Regions from separate parts of the Homo sapiens genome. Here region 1 is linked to region 2. Evidence: promoter capture Hi-C in human tissues and cell types (Jung and others, 2019). All regions are on one chromosome and are shown on one strand. The core of a region is centred on a gene start or on the middle of the fragment in contact, and the rest is flanking DNA. Distances in the headings are between cores, read along the strand shown. Region 1 overlaps DMRTB1 (DMRT like family B with proline rich C-terminal 1). Region 2 holds the start of NDC1 (NDC1 transmembrane nucleoporin).

Evidence for each region. The method cuts DNA at HindIII sites, captures the fragments that hold promoters and counts their contacts. A contact is called where the count stands out against the background at its distance.
Region 1: a contact is called between a fragment that was not itself captured here and the fragment with the promoter of NDC1 in region 2, in 1 of the 25 tissues and cell types used here (IMR-90 fibroblasts).

What each region holds. Positions count from the first base shown.
Region 1 is chr1:53,463,303-53,467,768 of GRCh38, reverse strand. It overlaps DMRTB1 (DMRT like family B with proline rich C-terminal 1), which reads right to left. Exons shown (of 4, transcript NM_033067.3): 3 at 2,922-3,132; 4 at 281-1,174. The coding sequence ends at 1,107. Among named protein-coding and RNA genes, the nearest start is that of DMRTB1, 6.1 kb to the right of the region's middle. RefSeq lists an enhancer at 4,336-4,466. The HindIII fragment of the contact is 7,613 bases long and covers 1-4,466 here.
Region 2 is chr1:53,834,864-53,839,868 of GRCh38, reverse strand. It overlaps NDC1 (NDC1 transmembrane nucleoporin), which reads left to right and starts at 1,573. Exons shown (of 18, transcript NM_018087.5): 1 at 1,573-1,664; 2 at 4,249-4,369. The coding sequence starts at 1,608. RefSeq lists an enhancer at 1,100-1,579 and a silencer at 1,690-1,819. The HindIII fragment of the contact is 21,020 bases long and covers 1-5,005 here.

The sequences.
Region 1 (4,466 bases), core at 799-3,298, 370 kb after region 2:
TTTACATTTTGTGTGTCTACATCAGATTTCCTTAAAAGGTCTCCATTGCTTAAAATAACAACAGTAATAATAAAGAAGTCTACTAGCCTGGCCCAATCCCCTCACTTGATAAAGAAAGGGGAGGTAGAACAGGGAGGGCAGGAACTAAAAATAGGAACTAAGCAAGTGCAGACAAGGCCAGCCACAGGCCACAAACCAAGGCCCCCAATCTCCCCAACTCAGGCTCCTGCCAACCCTACCTTCCACCAGGATCAAAGGGAGAATAAGCCTTCCACAAGGATTTCCATTGCTCATTTTATTTCAATAGCCAACTGTCCTCACAGAAGAAACTGTTCATGTCACAGGTGATCAGAAGCACCATTCTATTCCCTAGGGACTGCATCAGTGCTTATGAACAGCCTACTTTTTAAAGTTGGCAATCACTATAAAAACATCAAATAGTCAAACTAATAAATTTTTTAAAACCAGTGCCCATAATGGCTGAAACTTTATGGAGGGGGAATGAAGTAGCCCCAGCAGCCAGGATGCTTGCTAGTAAAACCCCTTAGAGGAGGGGCAAGGGGCTGTGGCCAGGAAGATGTGGGGGACAGAGCAGCAAGGCAGGATGCTGCAGAACCTGCTGTCAACGACCCTGGTCCTGGCTGCTGGCTCCAGCCACCTGGATGAACTGGAATCTTGATGTCTGTGGTGCCCCCAGCAACCTGGAGGACCAGGCAAAGGCAGCAGAAGGCTGAAATAGATGGTGCCTCCTGTCCTAGAGTGGGGCCTGAGGAAATCAAATACTGCCTCTGGGGCTTGTTCCAATAAATGGTAGTGTAACCCAAGGACAGTTAAATTCATTCCTAAATGGGAGCTTCTCCCAGCGCCCACTCCTCAGAGCCCTGGCCCTCCCCTGGTAATAGCTTCCTCCACACTCTTCTTCAACTGTACAGCGCAGGATTGAAACTTAGAAATTGCTCTCCTTCCTCCTATCTTAAACTGGGAATCAGTTGCCATCTATGCTATCAACCTCCTTCCTCCCTACATATCACTGAATGAAGACAAGAAAACTGTTGCTGTTGCCCCCCAGTGCCCCACTCTGCTGGCCAGGAGGGCGGGCCTGGGGCCTAGTCGGACTGCTCCTGAGACGATGGCTGGCTGGGCTCACCCGACAGTACCTCTGCATCCTGGTCATCTGTGAAGGACAAAGAAGGTAGCTGGATTTAGAAAGAGCGAAAATTACAACTACCTATTTGCAGATGAAGATTTTCTTTTTTCTTATTTTATTTTAATTTTTTTGAGACAGAGTCTCGCTCTGTCACCCAGGCTGGAGTGCAGTGGTGTAATCTCAGCTCACCGCAACCTCCACCTCCCAGGTTCAAGCAATTCTCCTGCCTCGGCCTCCTGAGTAGCTGGGATTACAGGCACCCGCCAACATGCCCAGTTAATTTTTGTATTTTTAGTAGAGACAGGGTTGCCCCATGTTGGCCAGGCTGGTCTTGAACTCCTGACCTCAGGTGATCCACCCACCTCACCCTCCCCAAAGTGCTGGGATCACAGGTGTGAGTCACTGTGCCCAGCCCAGATACAGATTTTCCATAAGCCTTTCTCATCATTCCCAGCCCTAGGGGAGAATGTATTTTCTTTAACTTGTTAGGCGCCAGGAGCCTGGAATCCTAGCCTTGGCCATGTGATTCAGATTCAAGTTCCAGCTCTTGCTCTGCTCGTCACAAGCTGGGAGGAATTAGCAAGATACTCCACAGCTCTGAACCTCAGCTTCCCCTTCTGTAAAATGAGACGTATCCACCTTGCAATGGCAGCATGGGCACTAAGTGAAACAGACAGTGATAGGCCACCTTCACCAATGCCTTCATCACTTCAGGTTCTGTTTAATCCTCAGAATCCTCATGAGGTAGGGACCATTATTAGTCTCCTTTTACACATGATGAAACTGGAGCACCAAAGAGTAAATGAGCTTGCTCAAGTTACACAGCTGGGCAAGTGCTGGAGCCAGGACTCACACCCAGGCCACCCAGCACTGGGGCCAGTGGTTTTCAGCCACATGAAACCACCTCTCCAGCTACTGGATCTAGGCACTGCACACACAGGAAGTGTGCAACAGGCCTCAGTTTCCTCTTCAGTAAAATGGTGATACCACCAGACTCCTCTAGCTCATAAGATGGTCTGACAGTCATTTTAAAGGCCTAGTTGAGTTTGTCAGTTCTTTCCAAATCATAGGAGCCCCAGGGGAAGACTGAAAGGAAAAATGTCCTAGAAGCTTTAAAGCTGCAAGGGCCCTCAAAAGAAAACCCAAAACATTTTCACATCCAAAAGTTTCTTCGACCCTCACAGTAACCTAGTAAGGGGGCCCCTTTTATAGTTGAAAAGCCTCAGTGCCCAGGATCATCCAGTGCCCCAGTGGCAGAGCTTGTGAAGGACAGATTCTCTAGCTCCTGGTCTGGTTCCCTCAGAGTGGCCTGGGGCAGAGGCACAGCCCCACCACACGGGTTCCTGCTGCTGCTCCAGTCTCTCCATCTGCTCCCCTACCCCAGCTAGAGAGGCCTGGCACCTCTGGTCTTCCAAACACACCATATGCCTGCTGTCTTCCACAGCACCGCCCACGAGCCAATAAGGTGAGTGAACAGGCACTAGACTGGGAGCTAGACTGAAAAACTCTGTTCAAATCCCAGCTCTGCCATTTATACCCAAGAGAACTGCTGGAGGCCCTGGTTTCCTCACCTGGAATCCCATTCCCACCTCCCTTAGATGTGTGCCTATGGGGACTGGAGGAAGGGTGTAAGAAGGAGCTCATTCTAGGGCTCAACACCCTTTAAATTCCATGTCCCTTCTCTCCACACCTAACCTTTCTTCAGATTAGGTACCTCTTCCTCCAGAAAGTCTCCCTGGCTCTCGCTGAAGCTGGAAGACTGGAGCTCACTCACCAGTGTTCTCCTTGTCAGTATCAAACAGGACGGTCAGTGAGAAAGATGATGGAGGTGGTGGTGGCGGTGGCGGGGGGAGGAAGTGGAGCGCAGAGAGGTAGCCTGGCGGGAGGAACTGGGGCTGCGGTGGAAGCGGTGGAAGGGGCGGCAGTGGCGGCGGCGGCGGCGGCAGGTAGTAGCTTGGCTGGAAGTCTCCTCCTGGTTCTGACACCTGCACGGCACACACAGCAGAGAGGCGGAGAGGAGAGAGAGTTAGCCAGATGGGCTGACCAAACATAGCTCTCACCCCTGAAGTGGGGGGCTCCTGATGGGGTAGATGCACGGCCCCAAACACACAGGCACAGGGCATTTGGAAGGGGGCATTCAGCAAACACCTGCCAAATTATTGAAGGCAAGAAGGAACACAGGCAACCTCAGATAAGCATGGGAACAGCTGAACGGTCACAGTGACAGAGCCCTTCTGTATATGCCAGGGCGATTGTGCTTGGGTGCTCAGAATCCTAGGCGGTGGGTTCTATTACTATTCTTGCTGTAATTATGAAAAACAGGTTCAGTGAGATGAAGCTACAGGCCCAGGGCCGCAGAGCTGCTTTGTGGTTAAGGGGCAGAACTGGATCCCAAGTTGGCTGACTCCATAGCCCACTCAGCTGACTTCTGTCCAGCGCTGCTCTGCACTGGGGAAGGGTCTGAACGCATCCCAACCCCACAGGACCCCCTGTCTGGCACATGTGGTGACTTAAACTCAAGTGCCAGGGGGGCCTTTGGGAGAAGAGGTTGGCAATGTGGGTGTAGCGCAGCTGTTTCTGAGGCAAGATACACTGGGTGACTTCAGGCAAGTGGCCTCACTGATGAACATTTTGCTGCTTCTGTCCCTTCTTCAAGGGATGGAATCCAACCCCTTACCACAGCACAGGGCCCCATCAGAGGATCTGGAGAGGGGATGACTGCACAACTCAGAGCTTAACCAAGAAACACACAAATGTCGTAAGAAATAATACTGAGTTTTGGATGTAGTTCCTGTCATTCACTTCTCTATCCAGATGCTTCAGAGCAACACATCCTGAGCTGAGTTTCATGGAGTCCTGGTGTCCTACAAAGTATTTTTTAGTACTCTTAAAAGTGTTCTTTGTTAAGTGAGTTTGAGAAACCCCATATACTGCTCCCCACATTAGTGGGTCACACATGAGCATATTAAAGGCTTGGAAGAGTCTGCAAAAATCTCCTTAGATTAACCCAGCACTTCCTAACTTCGTTCAACCAGCAGGAAGGGAAGAAATCTCACTTTTAAGTACCTACTATGTGCCAGACCCTGTGCTAGGTATTTTACATGCATCGCCTTATCTATTCTCAGGAGCCCTAATAGATAGGTCCTCTCACTCCCATTTTACAGACCAAGACCCGAGTGAGGTCCTCAGAGGTCAGATAACTGCCACGGGTCACGTGGCTGGGACACGACGGGGGAGGCAGAATTGGACCCTAGGTCTGCCCACCTCCAGGGCCAGTGCTGTCCTGTGAACAGGAGGGCAGAGGAAGCCAAGCAGCAGC
Region 2 (5,005 bases), core at 324-2,823:
AGTCTCTACCACAAGAACCTTAGAACCTGAGGTGTCTTTATGAACACGCATTTGGACTGATTTTTTTTTTTTTTGGACAGGGTCTCACTCTATGGCCCAGTCTGGAGTGTGATGGCGCCATCACTGCTCACTTCAGCCTGAACCTCCCAGGTTCAAGCAATTCTCCTGCCTCAGTCTATGGAGTAGCTTGGACTACAGGTGTGCACCACTACACCCGGCTAATTTAAAAAAAAGTTTGTTGTTGTTGTTGTTGTTGTTTTTGTGGAGATGAGGTCTCACTATGTTGCCCAGGCTGGTCTCAAACTCCTGGCTTGTGATCCTCCTGCCTTGGCCTCCCAAAGTGCTGGGATTACAGGTGTGAGCCACTGTGCCTGGCCTGGACTAATTCTTTACAAGTTTTCTCCACCACCGGATAGATCTCTTCACGGCAGAGACTTGATCTATCAGTTGTATTCCCAGTTTGTCCTACAGTGCTTTAGACATGATTGATAGTAACATGATTTTGGAAGTGAATAGGATATAATCTTAAAGCATTCAGGAAGCCATTGTTAGCAAACGTTGCAGAGCAGTAGGTGTGATCTCAATTCCTCTCACCAGCCTATGCATTTCCTTAGTCAGTAAATCACTGAATCTATTTCTGTCTTGAGTATTGCATGTTGACTGTGGCATGTGATTGAGCATAAAAAGGCGTTAGCGATATGCATCCAGAGATCTCACTGAGGTCTAAAGCACTGAGAAGACTTCATTAGGTGAAACTTGGGTTGGTGAAACACCTTTTTTCTTACTGGCAGTATATTAATGATAACATTTGTATAGCATATTATTTACATCCTCACAACATCACCAGGATATTTTTATTTTCATCCTTATCTTACTGTTGAAGAAATGGAGGCTCAGAGAAGATAAAAATATTCAATTTAGCAAGTGGCAGATCTGGAAGTAGAAACCAGATTTTATGAAACCAAAGGCATCTCTAGAGAATTTTTTTTTTATTTCAGTAAAATTACTGCGTACCTATTGTGGAGAAGACCACCACATCCTTTGGTTTCACTTTTAGGTGACTTATAAAGTAATAGGGAGAAATGAGGGCAGATCATTTTGCTAGCTCTAACTGAAGAATTCCAGTCAATCAATACTGTGGCTGTTATCGGCTTTATAAAAGACTACTATTCCCAGCATGCCTCAAGGCACCTCCAGGAAGACCTTGACTCCCAGCATTCTGTACTTTGGAACTCCGAGTCCCAGAATGCAACATTCCTCCTACTTCCTCTCAGGGGGCCGTCGAGACTACAGTTCCCAGCATGCAGCGCCGCCACCTGCTTCTGGCGCCCCGCTGGACCCTGCTTCGAAGGGACCGTTTGGTCGCCAGAGGGCGGTTCCTGGAGTTACAGCCGCGTTTGCGGGACGTGTCTGCGCGGCAGTCCTGGCCTGTTGAGCTTGTCCAGACGAAGCCTCGCAGGGATGGGTTGGAGCCTGGGCCGGGCTTCGCTCAGGCAGCGTTTGAGGCAGACCCAGCAGGGTCCTCCTGGGGCCTTCCTGCCTTTGAACTGCGGTGGCGGGCGGGCGCACGGTCTCCTGTACGCCCTAGACTAGGGGCCGCCATCTCCATGGCCACGGCCGTGAGCCGGCCCTGCGCCGGCAGGTCGCGGGACATACTGTGGCGCGTGAGTGCGGCGTGCACTGTGGCACGCACTGCCAGGGTCGGGCCGGGCGGGCAAGCTCTGATCGCGCGTGCGCGCTGGGCGGGGGAGGGCCGGTCCCGGGGCAGCGTGGAGAGAACGCGTGGGGAAGGCACCACTTGGGGGACTGATTGCAGGGTTGTGGGAAGTCCTGAGTGGAAGTTGGTTACGGGGTAGGAGAGGGGTCCTGAGTGGAAGGAAGCTGGTCAGAGTGGGACGGATGGACTGAATGGAAATTGGAATAGGGAGTGAGGCGGAGTTTTACGCAAGGGTACCGTATCCAGTAGGTGCAAAATAAATAACTTAATTTGTTTCGTTAAGAAGTGGGAAGGAATGCACGGAATTGGAAAGAAATGTGGCATTAGTAGAGGCTGGGGTTAGGGTCCAGTAAGCAGGGCAGGTGTTCTTTGTAAGGTAGAATGGGACTGAGCTGAGTGGAATAGTACTTCCTCCTTAAAGTTACGGAATTAACAGTACTACATCGCTTCTCTGGAGTGCAAAGAGAAAGAGGAGAAAGATCCCTTTTGGAAAAGTGCTTCTATCCCAGTGCACTGCCATCTCCCCTGTATTCCAAACTAAAAACTTTTGGGTCCGTAAGTCTTATCTTTTTTTTTTTTTGAGCCGGAGGCTCGCTCCCTGTTGCCCAGGCTGCAGTGCAATGGCGCGTTGTCGGCTCACTGCAACCCCCGCCTCCAGGGTTCAAGGAGTTCTGCCTCAGCTTCCCGAGGAGCGGGGATTATAGATACGCACCACTACGCCCAGCTAATTTTTGTATTTTTAGTAGAGATGGGGTTTCACCATGTTGGTCAGGCCGGTCTTGAACTCCTGACCTCAAGTGAGTCATCCGCCTCGGTCTCCCAAAGTGCTGAGATTACAGGCGTGAGCCACCGTGCCTGGCCTCTAAAATTTTTTTAAAAATTATTTTTATAATAGAGATACGATATCTTCTCCAGCCTGGTCTTGAGCTCCTGGGCTCAACTAGTCCTCCTGCCTCAGCCGCCTAACTATTTGGGACATCAGGTGCATGCCATCGTGCCTGGTGTATGTTTAGCATGCATGAGTACTTCATTCCTTTTTGTGGCTGAATAATCCACTGTATGGACATACCACATATTTTGTTTATCCATTCATCAGTATGTGGGTATTTGGGTTGTTGCCACCTTTGGCACTTGTGAGCCACCGCACTTGGCTGACAGTGTCTTCTGAAGCAAAAAAGTTTTAAATATTGCTGATGTCCAATTTATCTATATTTTTCTTTTGTTGCTTATGCTTTTGGTGTCATATCTAAGAAACCATTGCCAAATCCAAGATCATGAAGGTTTACTCCTATGTTTTCTTCCAAGAGTTTTATAGTTTTAGCTCTTACATGTAGGTCTTTAATCCATTTTGAGTTAATTTTTGTATAGAATGTGGGATAGGAGGCTGGGCGCTGTGGCTCACGCCTGTAATCTTAACACTTTGGGAGGCTGAGGTGGGAGGATCACTTGGGGTCAGGAGTTCGAGACCCCATCTCTACTGAAAAAAAAATTAGTCAGGTGTGGTGGCGGGCACCTGTAACCCCAGCTACTCAGGTGGCTGAGGCAGGAGAATCACTTGAACCCGGGAGGAGGAGGTTGCAGTGAGCTGAGATGGCACTGTTGCATCTAGCCTGGGGGACAGAGCGAGCTGTCTCAAAATCACAACATCAAAAAGAATGTGGGATAGGAGTTCAACTTTATTCTTTTTTTTTTTTTTTTTTGTTAGACAGAGTCTTGCTCTGTTGCCCGGGCTGGAATGATGCCTGGCTAATTTTTAAAAAATTTTTTATAGAGACAGGGTTTTACCATGTTGGCCAGGCTGGTCTCAAACTCCTGGCCTCAAGTGATCCGCCCACCCTGGCCTCCCAAAGTGCTGGGATACAGATGTGAGCCACCACGCCCGGCCTCAGCTTTTTGGTGGACTGCCTCCTAACTGCATTGTCTCTGGTTTGGTTCGTGTCCCAACTCCTCCATCTTCCTTAAAGCCAGCTTTCAGTAAACAGACATGTTTTACCTTGAGCAACATGAATTTGATTGTCACTTTCATGCTTAAAACCCCTCTATATCTTCTTGTATTATTCAGCAGTAAATATTTTCCTCCTATATGATAGATACGGGCAATTCAAACATGAATAGAATGCTACAGTGCCGTAGTTGCCCAGTAAAGGTTCATATCTGATGATTATAAATACAGTTACAGTATACAGGTGGTTCCCATAAAATGTGTACAGCCTTTATATATTAATATAGCTATCAATTAAGCCTAGAGAGACAAGTATTAGTTGCTCTAAAACAGCTGTAAATCAATGCCCACCACCCCTCATACAAAGTATGATATTTGATGTTGCACCTAACTTTGTACTAATGCAGGCATCAGCTCACTGATACTATAAATTCTTTAGTGGTACGTAATGTTATTACTAGTAGTGAATGTTTGAGTTACGGATTATGATCTGAGTTAGTGGTTAACATCCTGTATGAAAAGATAGGATTTGCATAACTGAAATAATTTAACTGACTTCATGAGTGAGGGTTTTTCTTTTTGTTTATAGGTTTTGGGCTGGAGGATAGTTGCAAGTATTGTTTGGTCAGTGCTATTTCTACCCATCTGCACCACAGTATTTATAATTTTCAGCAGGATTGATTTGTTTCATCCTATACAGTGGCTGTCTGGTAGGTGATACTCAACTTGGGGAGAAAGTTATAGGACCTACTTCTCAACATAAAAATTGCATTATGTTTCAAGCAGTTTATTTTCAATTACTGCCTATGTTATATTGACACATCAAAACATTCACTTTGAGATAATTTTAAGATGTCTCCTTCGTAACATAAATCACCTTTTTATTATGTAATAAGATTAATAAGCTTGTCAAAGACTGTGATCATAGGAACGAAAAGATCATTAGAAGACCCCATAAATGAAAACTTAGTTTCATTTGTTTTTCCTTTGGGCAGCTTTATTGAGATTGTTTGTCTCTTTAAAATACAGAATGGTTCCTGTCATCGATTCGAAATTGTGGGTAGAAAATATGACATGTACCTCTTTTAAAAATACGTCTAAAATTAAGAGCACTTGATTTCTTTTTTTGAAACAGAGTCTTGCTCTGTCACCCAGGCTGAGTGCAGTGGCTCAGTCTTGGCTCACTGCAACCTCTGCTTCCCATCTTCAAGCAATTCTTGTGCCTCAGCACGCGCCACCACGCCCGGCTGATTTTTGTATTTTTAGTAGATACGGGGTTTTGCCACGTTACCCAGGCTGGTCTTGAGCTCCTGACTTCAAGCAATCCACCTGCCTCAGCCTCCCGA